Regions from separate parts of the Homo sapiens genome. Here all the other regions are linked to region 2. The links are contacts of gene promoters, found by promoter capture Hi-C in blood cells and fetal thymus (Javierre and others, 2016). All regions are on one chromosome and are shown on one strand. Each heading gives the region's core, a stretch centred on a gene start or on the middle of the fragment in contact. The rest is flanking DNA. Distances are from core to core; before and after follow the strand shown. Region 1 overlaps AHI1-DT (AHI1 divergent transcript). Region 2 holds the start of MTFR2 (mitochondrial fission regulator 2). Region 3 overlaps MAP3K5 (mitogen-activated protein kinase kinase kinase 5). Region 4 overlaps AHI1-DT (AHI1 divergent transcript). Region 5 holds the start of PEX7 (peroxisomal biogenesis factor 7).

What was found. Contacts are between HindIII fragments. The CHiCAGO score rates a contact against its expected background, and 5 or more counts as called.
Region 1: a contact is called between a fragment that was not itself captured here and the fragment with the promoter of MTFR2 in region 2, in 16 of 17 cell types (fetal thymus, non-activated CD4 T cells, naive CD8 T cells and 13 more). The highest score is 27.2, in fetal thymus.
Region 3: a contact is called between a fragment that was not itself captured here and the fragment with the promoter of MTFR2 in region 2, in 1 of 17 cell types (neutrophils). The highest score is 5.2, in neutrophils.
Region 4: a fragment that was not itself captured here is called in contact with the fragment with the promoter of MTFR2 in region 2 in 1 of 17 cell types (M2 macrophages); the score reaches 5.3 in M2 macrophages.
Region 5: the fragment with the promoter of PEX7 here is called in contact with the fragment with the promoter of MTFR2 in region 2 in 2 of 17 cell types (neutrophils and activated CD4 T cells); the score reaches 8.8 in neutrophils.

What each region holds. Positions count from the first base shown.
Region 1 is chr6:135,499,000-135,501,699 of GRCh38, reverse strand. All of the region lies in intron 2 of AHI1-DT (AHI1 divergent transcript), which reads right to left. Among named protein-coding and RNA genes, the nearest start is that of AHI1-DT, 2.5 kb to the right of the region's middle. The HindIII fragment of the contact is 6,529 bases long and covers 1-2,700 here.
Region 2 is chr6:136,248,862-136,251,561 of GRCh38, reverse strand. MTFR2 (mitochondrial fission regulator 2) reads left to right here and starts at 1,251. Exons shown (of 8, transcript NM_001099286.3): 1 at 1,251-1,586; 2 at 2,409-2,525. The coding sequence starts at 2,463. RefSeq lists enhancers at 782-931, 1,582-1,801. The HindIII fragment of the contact is 2,013 bases long and covers 1-1,630 here.
Region 3 is chr6:136,772,541-136,775,240 of GRCh38, reverse strand. The region is part of intron 1 of MAP3K5 (mitogen-activated protein kinase kinase kinase 5); the gene reads left to right. Among named protein-coding and RNA genes, the nearest start is that of MAP3K5-AS2, 10 kb to the left of the region's middle. RefSeq lists a silencer at 1,896-2,190. The HindIII fragment of the contact is 2,590 bases long and covers 30-2,619 here.
Region 4 is chr6:135,698,094-135,700,793 of GRCh38, reverse strand. The region is part of intron 5 of AHI1-DT (AHI1 divergent transcript); the gene reads right to left. Among named protein-coding and RNA genes, the nearest start is that of LINC02524, 65 kb to the right of the region's middle. The HindIII fragment of the contact is 645 bases long and covers 1,039-1,683 here.
Region 5 is chr6:136,821,342-136,824,041 of GRCh38, reverse strand. It overlaps PEX7 (peroxisomal biogenesis factor 7), which reads right to left and starts at 1,450. Exons shown (of 10, transcript NM_000288.4): 1 at 1,247-1,450. The coding sequence starts at 1,376. RefSeq lists enhancers at 840-999, 381-1,113, 1,114-1,846, 1,730-1,879 and a silencer at 1,170-1,549. The HindIII fragment of the contact is 4,798 bases long and covers 1-2,700 here.

The DNA.
Region 1 (2,700 bases), core at 158-2,657, 750 kb after region 2:
GCTTTATCATTTTCTTTATGTATATTATTTATGTTTATATTTATTTACAGTATTTATGTATACTTTTTTCCTGAACCATTTGAATAGGTTGCAGATATGAAGCCTCATCACCTTTAATACTTCAATATGTATTTTCTAAAACCAAAAATATCTATGTCACTATAGTCATCAAAATCAGGAAATTAATATTGTTAAAATACTACCATCTAATCCAGAGACCCCATTCAAATTGTTAGTTGTCCCAATAATATCCTTATAGCAAAAGGATTCAATTCAGAATCATGTATTCCACTTAATTGTCATGTATCTTAATTCTCCTTCAATCTAAAAACGTTCTTTAGTTGTTCCTTTGTCTTTCATGACCTTGATCTTTGAAGAGTACAGGTCTATTATTTTGTAGAATGTCCCTCAATTTGGGACATTTGGGTTGTCTGATTTTTTCCTCACGATTGATTCGGATTACACATTTTTGGCAGGAATGTCACAGAAGTGTATTCTAAGTGCCTCTAACCAGGACATACACGATGCTGATTTGTCTCATGACTGCTGATGGTAACTTCGCTCACCAGTGCCAGATTTCTACACTGTCAAGTTTTCTAATTTTTCTCTGTGTAATTAATAAGTATTTGCTGGAGAGATACTTTGAGACTATATAAATATTATATGTCTCTTAATACTCTCACCCTCTAGTTTTAGCATACACTGATGATTCTAGTCTGAATCAACTGTTACTATCATGACTGCCAAATAATGATGTTTCTACATATAACACTGTCTACATTCATTACATTTAGTTGGCATTTTTATGTAAGGCAGAGCTTTTCTTTATCCTGATTTTTCAAAAAAATCATTTATTCATTTTAGTATGGGCTCAAATATTCCTATTTTATTTAGCGGACTATAATCCATTAACATTATATTGGTGCTCAGATTGACCCAGATGTGGCCAGTGGTGGCTCCTTCAAGCTGGCTTCTGTGACCTTTTGATATGTTTCTTCATTCTGTATTAACTTCCTTAACTTCTGGTGCAACAAGAATTTTCCAGGCTCCTGTTCTAAAATCAACCATTTCTCCAAGGGACCCAGTTACTTTTAGTGAATAATACTGTTCAGAAACCAAGATCTAGGCACATGTGCTCATTGCTTCTAGTATACCATTACTCTGAAACCCTTTCAGCAGATAGAGCTAGGAAGAGCATAATAGATAGATACGCACACACATACAGACATACTTTCCTCTATATTTATTTTTACATATGTTTATGTATATATTGAAAACTATGAGTTGACACTGACATATTCAATTCCAATTCAACATCACCACAAAGGTCACTGTGGAATTCTTCCTCTCTCAATTTGTAACGTCCTTCTCTGTCAGTGAGAAACCTGGCTCCCATTAGACCCAACATATTTATTTCCTCACTCCCCTTTCATGCTTGCCACCTCTTTACTTGCCAAGGGGAAGGCAAAACAGCTGGTCATCGTTTTTTATTATTTCTTATCATTCACTCTTCCATCCAATCAATCACTAAGTCCTGACATTTTTACCTCCTAAAAATTTCTCAAATTGGTCCATTTCTCTCCATTCTGATTTTTCTTAGCCTTGACCATGCCACCTTTGTCTCTTACATGGCTTACAGCAACGGCATCTTAAATGGTATTCCCAGATCTAGATTTGCTTCCTTCCTGTCTGTTCTCCACCCTGCAGCCAGAGTTATCTTTATGATATTAAAATTTGAAAATTTCACTCCATAAAATTCTATAGTGGTATTCCACTGACCAATACTGTCTGGGTCTCTTCATAGCTTGTTTAACTCTCTTGTTTTGTCTCCTCCAAAAGCCCCTAGTCTCATTCTCTACCTTTTAGTTAGCCAACTTGAACTTTTTTTTTTTTTCTTCCAGTTCTTGTATTATACCAAACTTTCTTGTAGTGAACACTATACGCCACCTTCTTCTACCTGGAAACCCTTCCTAACCTGGACAACTCTACACATTATTTTGGTCTTTACTTAAATGTCACTTCTGCTATGAAATATTCCCTGACCTCCCCCACCCCACTGCACCTCTGCATGCTACTGTAAATGGAGAAGCAAGAGATGATAACAGGGTTACACATCCGCTAGTCTGGGGATTGTATTCTGAAACTAACACCCTACTAAGAATGAGCAGTCAGAGTTATAACTTCCCTTTGGAAAAGCAGGTACTTAAATGCAGTTGTGAGGACAGATGAAAAGTACATAAAACACCTACAATGCATACCTCCTAGAAGGAGCTCAATATATGTTATCCATTATTCATTCAACAAATGTTCATGAAATGCCAACTATTTCATAGACACTGTGGTAGATGCTGGGGATAGAGAAAATACAAAGTAAACTATGAAACTATAGAATGAGCATCCAAAGTCTAATATATAGAATGAGTATCCGAAGTCTAATAGGGAGTAGGAGTGTTTGAAGGAGTCAGTCAACCTGCTTAAGATTCAAAGGATGGACAACATTTGGCTGTGATGCAGGAGTGTAAAAGGAGGAATTTTCAGGAAGAGAGGACAATATGAGTAAGGACGGGGCGTGAAAGGCTATGGATTGTTTTTCATGGTACACATAATTCAATGTTGCATAAAACTGCATGGTACACATGATTCAATATTGCATAAAATTGGAACAAGAAGCTAACGAGAGATGAAACTAGTCAGGGAGAT
Region 2 (2,700 bases), core at 2-2,501:
GGAAGGACAAGGAACTTGAGAAAATTACTCCATCTAGGGTTTCTGATCCATCATCATCCTTGTTCTGCGCTCACTCAGCCGTATCCAGCTCTACTGGGCATATCACTATTATTGCTATCAATTGTTTTGCTAGTTGCTTAGTCCCAAATCATTATCATCTTTTCTGTCATTCCACATTTAGGTATTTTATTCAACAAATAGACTGAATGCCTATTATATACCAGACACTCTTCTAAAGCACTGGGGAAAGATAGAGCATGGATCAAAACAACTTCCTGTTCTCCTGGAGTCTACAATTTTGTTTGGTGGTAGTGGAAGCGTAACTAAATATATATGATAAGTGCTATAGAGAAAAGCAAATTAGGGTTAGAATGGAACGAGATGCCCCGCTGGCCTGTAAGCTCCAGGAGGACGAGGACCTGCCCTCTCATTAAGGTATTTTCCGTGCTTAGAATGGTGTCTGCTACGTAGTAGATATCTATTATTGGTTGAATGAATAAGTGATGTTGACCATAGATAAATTAGTTCAAAACTTAGATTTTCAAATTATGTCAGTAGCAGGCACACATCTTAAATTGTTATATCACTCCAGTGCACGTCTTGCTGAAATTCAGAAGAGGAAGCTATTTCGTATGAAGCCAATAACCTCAAATCAGAAATGAAAACTGGGATATCACCTGTCATATCACTTGCCATCCTCGGCTAAGCCAGGAGAGTGTCCGGCCCAATATTCGGTAGCCTGGATACGTAGGTGTATTTAGTGAACGAAAGAATGAATCCTAGCCACTGCAAAGCTGCAAAACCCTCGGGGGTAGTGCTTGGCTTCTGCCAGTTCCACAAGTATTTTAATATTAGCTGAACAAATGAAATGACCAAAAAATAAATCGCGATTTTGTGTCAGATGAACTTGGGAAGGCGGATGCGCTTAGGGTCCGGCTGTAGCGAGTAAGACACTCCCTGCGAAGAGTTCTGTGGGGTACGAACTCCGGACTGCGAGTCCAGCTCACGAGTTTGTACCTAAAACCTTGCCCTGCGGGAGCGACGCTGTCCTAACGCGACCTGCCCTGCCCGTCAGCTCCTATTGGCTGACTCTCGGAAGACCCGCCTCTTGAGAAGGAAAAGCAGTCGCTTCCCGAATTGCCTGACATCATGCAATGACCAATCAGAAGCAGCGATCTTCAGTTTTGCCCAATGAGGCTGGTTACGGGTCCTGGCCCGCGGAGTTTGATTTCGTCCTGGGATGCGGAAGTAGCAGTCCTGTCATGCGGAAGTAGCAGTCCGGTCCTAGGGACTAGCAGGTGGGTTGGTTGGGCGCAGGAGGACGGGGGCGCGCTTCCCATAACATTACCCTGGCTGAGCGTGAGGCTCCAGGGCTGGGCACCGGGTTGACCTCTTATTCCTCGCTGAGGGCATCGTTACCGCCTGTGGCTGCAAGCCGAGGCGCGCGGGTGGAAACTGGGTCGAGGTCTGGGTAGACGTCTGAGCGATCTGCACAAGGAGTGGCGCAGTCTGGAATTTGATTGAGGATTCCTAACGCCCTCCGCTTGATGTTCTGGTGATTCCCGGGGGCTCGGCTTCGGAGGAAGGTGAGCAAGGCTACCACGCTGTGTTTGGAGAGCACCAGGAAGCTTGTGACCAAAGCGAGGGACGCGATCCGGCTCTGGTCACGGCCTGTTACTAGATGGGTGACCAAGTCACGTCCCGTATCTGGAATTCATGCTTCTCATTTTAAAAGAGTGAGGAGGGATGGGCATTCCACATGGCTGGGGAGGCCTCACAATCATTGCTGAAGGCAAATGAGTAGCAAAGTCACATTTTACATGGTGGCAGGCAAGAGGGCTTGTGCAGGGGAACTCCTGTTGATAAAACCATCACATCTCATGAGACTTATTCACTACCACGAGCATAGTATGGGGGAAGCTGCCCCCATGATTCAGTTATCTTCACCTGGCCCCACCCTTGACACGTGAGGATATGTGTGTGAGAAGAGCTACTGTTTATTTTTTTAAAAACTGAGTCGTCCCTTGCCTGCTTTCAAGGGTTGGCTAAACTCACCCATCTGCTAAGAGTCTCAGCCCAAAGCTTTCAGGAAAGAGCGAGCTTCGCTGTGGCATGTAACTTGAAGCCTTGCCTACTAAGTAGATGTCCAGTTTGTTGATTGGTCTCTATTAACTAGGCTCAAACATCCTACGAGGTTTTAATGTAATCTAACCAATTAATTGAAATTTCCTTTACAACCCTCTCTTTCCCCCAGACTTCCCCTTCCTTTCTTTTTCTCTGACTTAAAAGAATGCTGGCTAGGAGAAATTAGTTGACTGTGTCGTGTATCAAGAGGACTTTTCCAGGTTATGTAGTACAATTTGGCATTTATTTGTCAAGAGTAACATTTTCTAAAATTTTCCCCAAAGGCACCAAGAAACTGATAATGTTCCTTTGAATTGGCTTCTGTATTTGCTTCATCAATGTCTCTCATACTGAATATCTTAAGAGAGATGCTGGAATATTTTGGCGTTCCTGTAGAACAGGTAAATGTCGTTTTGGATTGGAATGGATCTGTTGTATTTGTTCTTGGGTTTCATTTTGAAAATGACTTATATGTAATCATTTGATTTAAGGCAAAGTTGTTGCTTCTTTTTAGTTGGAACAAAGGTGAGTTTGTAATAGTATAGCTTTGATGATTTGAGTTAGAAGAGGGATAAG
Region 3 (2,700 bases), core at 75-2,574, 520 kb before region 2:
CCAGCACATTGCCTAGTTGCTTATAAGCTTGACCTTAGCATTCTTTTTCTTTTAAGGTATGAATAATCTTGGAACTATTTATCCTTCTATTTTTATTCTCTAAGATCTGAATTTTTTTTTAATTCATATTTCTGTTAGCAGCCCTATCTATTCCCTCTTGAAATGACCTCTGAAGGCTGTTAAATAAATTTTGATTTGCTTTAAGGATTCAGTATTCAAATCATGCTTGATTCTTTGGGAGATATAAAGAAAGCTGTTGCTCCATAGGTCTTGCATCATACGTGATATGACTAAGAAGGAACAACTGAAAAAGTCAAGTCCAATTTACACAATAATGAAAAACCTTTTGTTAGAAACATCTGACAAACAAGGAGCAGTTTCTGGTTTTTTAAAGAATCATTAGAATATAGTTCCATGTCTCTTTTTCTGTCTTGTTAACCCTGCACCTCTAGTACCTAATGGAGTGCTTGGCACTTGATACAGATTGATTGATTGAATGAATATCACACTTTCCCCCCAGTGGTGTTTTAGTTATTGGTTTTGATGTCTGCTTTTTCTGCTTAAGTGTGAGTTAATGACAAAGATCACATTTTATGGTTCTTGACATGCCCCAGGTCTTCTGTATCAGTGTGTGACCTGTAGATGACACTTAATGATGTTTGTAGAATACAATTCAATGATGTCATCCCTTTCCTGGAGCGGCTCACAGTCTGGTAAGGGAGACCAGCCTATGAACGTATTATATATATTGTGCTAATTGTTTGTTGTTGTTGTTTTTTAAAAAATTTGAGACTGAGTCACTCTGTCACCCAGGCTGGAGTGCAGTGGTGCGATCACAGCTCACTGCAGCCGTAACCTCCTTGGGCTCAGGCGATCCTCCCACTTCAGCCTTCTGAGTAGCTGGGATCACAGGTGTGTGCCACCATGCTGGCTAATTTTTTAATTCTTTTTTTGTAGAGATGGGGTTTTGCCATGTTGCCTAGGCTGGTGCTAATTGTTATACTAGAGGTTTATGTAAGGTTCTTTGAGAGCACAAATCATGGAGGATTCTTCAGGAGGAGAAGGAAGTGTGGAGGAGGTTGGCTAAGACATTGGACAGGAGGTGACATTTGAACTGGGTTTTGAAGGATAATGATGAAAGCTAACATTTATTGAGCACTTAACATGTGCCAGGCATTTTATAATAAATCATGGAAAAAATGAGTCTCTCCATAAGGAAGGGGTAGGATAAAGAGAAGGCCTATGATAGAACTAAGGAAACACTGGCATTTAAAGATGGACGGCGGGGCATGGTGACTCATGCCTGTAATGTAATCCCAGCACTTTGGGAGGCTGAGGCAGGCAGATCACCTGATGTTTGAGACCAGGTGTTTGAGACCAGCCTGGCCAACGTGGAGAAACCCCATCTTTACTAAAAATAGAAAAATTAGCTGGGTGTGGTGGCACCCGCCTGTGGTCCCAGTTACTTGGGAGGCTTAGGCATGAGAATCACTTGAACCCAGGAGGCAGAGGCTGCAGTGAGCTGAGATCGTACCACTGCACTCCAGCCTGGGTGAAACAGCCAGACTCTGTCTCAGAAAACAACCAACGAACCAACCAACAACAACAACAACAAAAAATGGGCAAAGGAAGGCATCATCTAGTGAGAAAGGGAAGATGGTAAGATGGCACAACAGATGAGAGAAAGTTCAGAGAGGGAGAGAGAGAAGGGATTAGCTCTAAAAGCAATGCAAAGAGGGCTTGTCCGAAGGTCAGTGAAGTTGAATGTTTCAGAGAAATAACTGGACTTGGAGATCAGAAAACCCCTGATAACTTTGCCAGAGCAGTTTCAGGAAAGCAGGTGGTGGTAGATGTCAGGTACGGTGACTTGACTGATTTCTGGAGAACAACAGAAGGCATGTAACAGGGAGTGTTATTTAAAGAAATGTGTTCACGAGGAAAGCAGAGAGAAGGCAGTCTCTGGAAGCGGTGCAGGCTACTCCCAAGGTAAGGCACGTGGCCTGGCTGCTGGTATTCATGCCTCAGATGGGATGAGGTCAGTAGGCCTTTGTGGGCTCAGGTGTTATTTAACAGGGTTTCCATGGGAATGTGGAAGGCAAATTCCCAACCACTTTCTTATGAGAATAACTTCTGGAGCATGACCCTTTGTAAATGTACTTGTTTTCTTGCTAATTTTAATTGACTGAAAATAGAGTTGTTTTTCCTTCCGAGAATCTCTTAACTTAGAGAAATTTGAATTCACACTGATACAGCTTAAGTTGAGAATTCTTGACTGGCTTGAACCCAATTTACAGAGGTGTAGGACTTCTTCAGGAAGGGAAAGTGCCCATCTCTCAGGCCAGTTAAGTCTTCCATGCATCTGTCCCCAATGGCCAGATTTCACAGGCTTTTGAAAGCTCAAGAATAGGAACTGGAACCTGAAACGCCTTTCTTGTTTTCTCAACCACTTGAAACACTTAATTGCTCATAATGCTGGCTGCATAACAGTGAACATGATTCATTTTTAAAAATGAGATTTATTTTGCTCAGTTTGCCACCTTACTTTGTAAACTTACAGTGGAAACAGTTAACATTTTTTCAAAACTCGGCTTGATTTTTAGGTTTTCTTCATCTTAAGCTTCCTAACCCCTCCTCAGTGGAGGGCTGCTGTCAGTAGATTACTGAAGTAAACCCTGGATTAACCTGCATTGTCTCACTACT
Region 4 (2,700 bases), core at 112-2,611, 550 kb after region 2:
TCAGTGCAGGCTGGCATGGTGGCTCATGCCTGTAAACCTAGCACTTTGAGAGGCTGAGGCATGTGGATCACTTGAGGTCAGGAATTCGAGACCAACCTGTCCAACAGGGCCAAACCCCATCTCTACTAAAAATACAAAAATTAGTTGGGCATGTGCCCATAGTCCCATCTACTCAGGAGGCTGAGGCATGAGAATTGCTTGAACCTGGGAGGCAGAGGTTGCAGTGAGCCGAAATCATACCACTACACTCCAGCCTGGGCAACAGGGTGAGACTCTGGCTCAAAAAAAATAAATAAATAATTTTAAAAAGTGAGAATCAGTGCATTCAAGGACTGGACCCTCTCCCCTAGCTTTGGAAAGTCTTTCTGACCAATCCCACCTCTTTGCATAATTCCAGCTATTACCTATGTGCCATCAGTGACCCCCCCAAACCCTGATTCCAATTTTATAAGCCCTAAAGACATGCCCCAAATGAAACTTGGCATCCTCACTCATAAACTGCCACACCCCTATTTTTCACACTTTGGCTGATAGCATTGCTATACAATCAGTCACTGAAGCTAAAAACTTTAGTAGTTCTTGACTATTTCCTGTCCTTATAATATCCAATCAGTCACCAAACCTAACCCATTCCACTTCCTAAATGTCCCATTTATTCACTTAAAAATATAACAGATATTTACGGAGCACGCACTGCATGTCCAAAATGTTGCCCTGGTTGTTCTATCTGCCCTTTGCTGTATCCCCACCGTCCCTGCCCAAATCAAGGCCTTTCCCACCACTTCCTCCAATTGGTAAAATACCATCCTAGCTTGTGTGCAAGTTTCCAGTTTCCTGACCCACCCCATGCATATTTTCCACTATCAAAAGGATCATGTTCCTAAAATACAAGTCTAATATTATAACTATTGGCTTTAAAGCATCCTGTCTCCCTTGGAGCCCATAAGATTACATCTTAGAACAACACTCAAAGTCCATTACATTTTGGTTCCACCTTTCTTTCCTGGCTGTCTGCCTCCACCCGCCTATGTTCAAGCTTCTTTAAAAGGTCACTAATCTTCAAACACACCACCCACCCACCTGCTTATTATTTTTTTTAATGTGGTCATCTCTGGTAGCAATTTCTTCTCATCTTCTTTTTGCCTCAGAATTTAAGGCAACTTCAAATATTAGCTTCACTGTAAAGGCTTCTCGGATGCTCCCAGGAAGACTGGGTCACTCTTTTCATTATGCTTTCAGAATGAATTGGGTATCACTATATCATTTATTACTGAGGGACTGAATATACAAACTGACATGAACTAATCCATGTATAAAAATAGAACTTTGACCATCAACCTCCAGAATCTTGTCCAGAAAGCCAATCTGTTAACTTCAATAAATAGTCCAGGAAGCCAGCCTGCTATAAGTCAGGCTGCTATCTGTAGAAACAATATAGGAAGCTAAGCAAAAACTTCTGTAACAATCGGCTCAAAATGGCCAGGACTTGATTCATAACTGACAGCTTTCCCAATATCTGTCCCCACTCCAAACTTAGGACAAACCAGAGAAAGCCAAATATGCACCCCTAAGCAATCACAGAGGATGTTCTGCTTCTGGTTAGCCTACCTCCAACTTCCCCAAGACAACAGCCTCCAGTCAGGGTATGATTGAAGCCTTCCCTTTATTTCTCACTATGAAGCTTCCCACTCCTCTGCTTGCCTTTGATTCTCTCCCAAAACACAAGTGACAGTGGCAGACTCCCCTTGCTATAGCAAACACTGAATAAATAATCCTTGCTTTTCTTCTTTAGTTGGTTTTGGTTTCTTTCCACTGTCTTTAACCAGGACCTGCCACATAAAATTGGTTAATGAATGATGTGTTTTTGTTATTGTTATAGTGGCTTTTGTTGGATGGCTACTTACTGCTACCACAGGATGCTTTTCCCAACAATCCAACTTTGTCATTATAAATTTGTTACTAATATTCCCTTATTATCTGGGTAAAATCTATAGGATAGTTAATGATGTCCCCTCTTTAATTCTTGACTGATAATTTTTTGTCTTCCCTTTTTTTCCTGTATCAGTTTTGCTAGATATTTACCAATATTACTGATGTTGTCAAAAACCCAGCTTGGGGTTTCATAAATTTTCTCAGTTTGTCTTGGGTTTTCTATTTTTGTTATCATTTTTATTCTCTTCCTTCTGCTTACTTTGGTTTAACTTTTCTTCTCTTTTCCAGCCTCTTGTGGTGGGAATTTAGACTCTAATAAATTTAGATCATTGATTGTTGATACTACTTCTTTTCTAATATAAGTATTTAGTTAGATGGTTTTGAGACTTGCTTTTAAGTTGTGCTTGGGCAGGGCTAGAGAAACCTTTCCTCTAGGAATGGGTTAGCCCACTACTGCAGAGTAGTCCTTCTGGATGGAGTCTTTACTGCATTCTCCAAGTAAAGAGGCTCAATGAGGGCTCTCCATGCTATCTGGTGGTAATGCAAATGATTCCGCAGTCTGTGTGTATTGTGGAAATACGCTCCTCTCATAACTCCACAGTTGTTCTTTGCCCAGCCTTGTAGCATTTCACGCTGTGCATTGTCTTGATATTTTTCAGACTCATGGGACCCACTGTGTATATTTCTCAAGCCCGTTTTCTGTGTAGCTCCCTACTCTGTAGATCTCTGCCTCACCATTTACAGACACCAGACTTCCTAAACTTCAAG
Region 5 (2,700 bases), core at 201-2,700, 570 kb before region 2:
ACAAAAAAATACAATAGACCACTGACATTATGAAATGAGTTTTTGCATCTCGCTTCAGTGCGTATAATAGCTAGGACATGAATTAAGGCAAAAGCGAGAATGAACCTACGCCTTTTCATCTAGTCCACGGACTAGATGGACTCTTTTTTTTGAGACGGAGTTTTGCTCTTCTTGCCCAGGCTGGAGTGCAATGGCACGATCTCGGCTCACCGCAACCTCTGCCTCCTGGGTTCAAACTATTCTCTTACCTCAGCCTCCCGAGTAGCTGGGATTACAGGCATGCGCCACCACGCCCGGCTAATTTTGTATTTTCAGTAGAGATGGGGTTTCTCCATGTTGGTCAGGCTGGTCTGGAACTCCCGAACTCAAGTGATCCGCCCACCTCGGCCTCCCAAAGTGCTGGGATTACAGACGTGAGCCACCGCACGGCGCTTGGCCTTTTTTCTTTTTAAGACGGGGTCTCAGTCTGTCACCCAGGCTGGAGTGGAGTGATGTGATCTCAGCTCACTGGGCTGGGGCAGAGTGATGTGATCTCAGCTCATTGTAGCCTCAACATCCCGGGCTCAAGCGATCCTCCCGCCTCAGCCTCCTGAGCAGCTTTAACCACAGGCTGAGCCAATGCGCGCGACGGGAGACAATTAACTGGAGTCTGTAACACCTACTTGCGAATGTGTGCATTCCTCGTTAGACAACTACAGGTAAGAACTGAACTTGATATATTTCATGGTGTCACCCGTGGGACTCCAGGCGTCCATTCAGGAGCATCGTCCTTAGGAAGGCCAGCCCGCAGGTCGCAGCTCAGTGCTCGAATGCAGACTGGGAATTGTGGGCCAACTCGCGAGCCCTGGGTCGGTTCTGGCTCAGACCGTCTTCCCCGTACTGCTGTGCCGAGCGGACCGATCCAAGGGACCGCGCAGGCTCCCCCGGCTCTCCCTACGGGGACGTGTGCCTGGGCGTGTGACACGTGGCGGAGGCAGCGCGGTCTCAAGGAACAAGGACACGGGCTACTAGGCTACACGTATATGCACTTGCACACAACTGGAAGATCGACTCCTGCTTCAGACCAACTCCTCGCACTCGGCAAAGAAAGGAGAAGCGCCGACCAGCGCCTCTTCTGCCCCCTGGCGTGGACCCGCGGAACCGTCTACGCTCAGAGGGGCTTTCCCTCGAGCGCGAGGAACTGGAGCCCGGCTGGCCCCCGCCTCCGCCTCCGCCCCCCGGCCCCAGCTGCGCGGCGCCGCCTCACCCGCGATGCCGTAGTGCTGCGCGGTGGCGCAGGCCAGGCGGCCCGGCAGGTACGGGGAGAACTCGGCGGCGTAGCCGTGGCGTCCCGGCGTCCGCAGCATCCGCGCCGCTCCACCGCACACCGCACTCATCCCGCCCGCCGCCCCCGGCCCTCGCTGCCCCGGCCGCGGAAGCCGTTCCGAGTCGGAGGCACACTGGCGCGGTTAGAGAGACCAGGCAGACCGGACGGAAGTGTGGGCCCCGTGCCCTGTGTTTGAGATTCTGATTGGTCCGCACAGGAAAGGGCGTTGACTCCGACGGAGACCATTTTTGTTTTGGGTGAATCCAAACTGAATTGCGCCTGCTGCAAAGATACAGATCTATCAGGGGAGTGATCCAGGGTTAGGTATTATTAATAATTACGACAGCTTTTGTCGTTGCATCTCAGCCTCCTCTGCGGTGCTATCTGGTTTTTATTTCATTGAGCGTTTGGAAGACTGGCATCAGGAACTTTTCCTGATGATTATAAAGTGAGAAAAGTTACAGCCGACTCTGAAACCACGCAGCGCGTCCAAAATTGCGTGCTGCGTTGCCCAAGGAAACTGGAAGCAATGAGAACTTAAGTCCGTGGAGTCACTGCGGTCTTTAGGAATAAGAGCGTGGGCTGGTGGGCTACTTTCACACTGTAACTGGAAAAGATGAAACACCAACTCCAAACCAACTCCCCATGCTTGGCAAGTGAGAAAAAGGAGCTGGCCAGTTCTAATGAAGCTAAGCAAAAAAGCAGCACATCATCATATACAACTTTTTTAAAAAGTATTACTATACATGTATATATTGTATGGTAATAAGTGCTCAGATGCTGGTGCTCATTCATTCATTTATTGCCAGGCATATACTATGTGGAGAATGACCAAATATAATTTATCTGCCAAACCAAGATACTTTTGAGAGTAAAGAGGGTGTAATTATTAAGCCAGGTCAACAGGCACAAACCAAGTCGTATGATCATCTTAACCATATACCAAGAACAGTACTAGGCATTTGGGATTCAAAATAATGGGATATGGTCCATGGCCTCAAGAGATTAGAGAAGAAGACTAAAAGAGAAGTCATGTAATTAGTTAAGTGTAATCAAAATACTGTAGAGGCTATGATAAATTTATATGGGGTATTTTTAAAAGGTGATTGTCCGTGCCAGAGGTATGGAAATTGCAGGAAAGGCTGCAGAAGAGAGATAAGTCTTTATGGTGATTGCACACAGATGAGTAGGTTTTCTTTAGGTAGACAAGAAGATGGAGATCTTTGTAGGAGCAGGAATAACATGAGCAACCCAGGAGATTTAAACCAGCATGATCCATAGGGGGTCGTGGCTGCCAGGACTCAGCCTGGCCAGATGGAAGGGATACGGTGAAAAAAATATTGGGTGGGGAGACTGTAGAGTGTTTTACTGGGGCTAGATCATGAAGAGTCTTA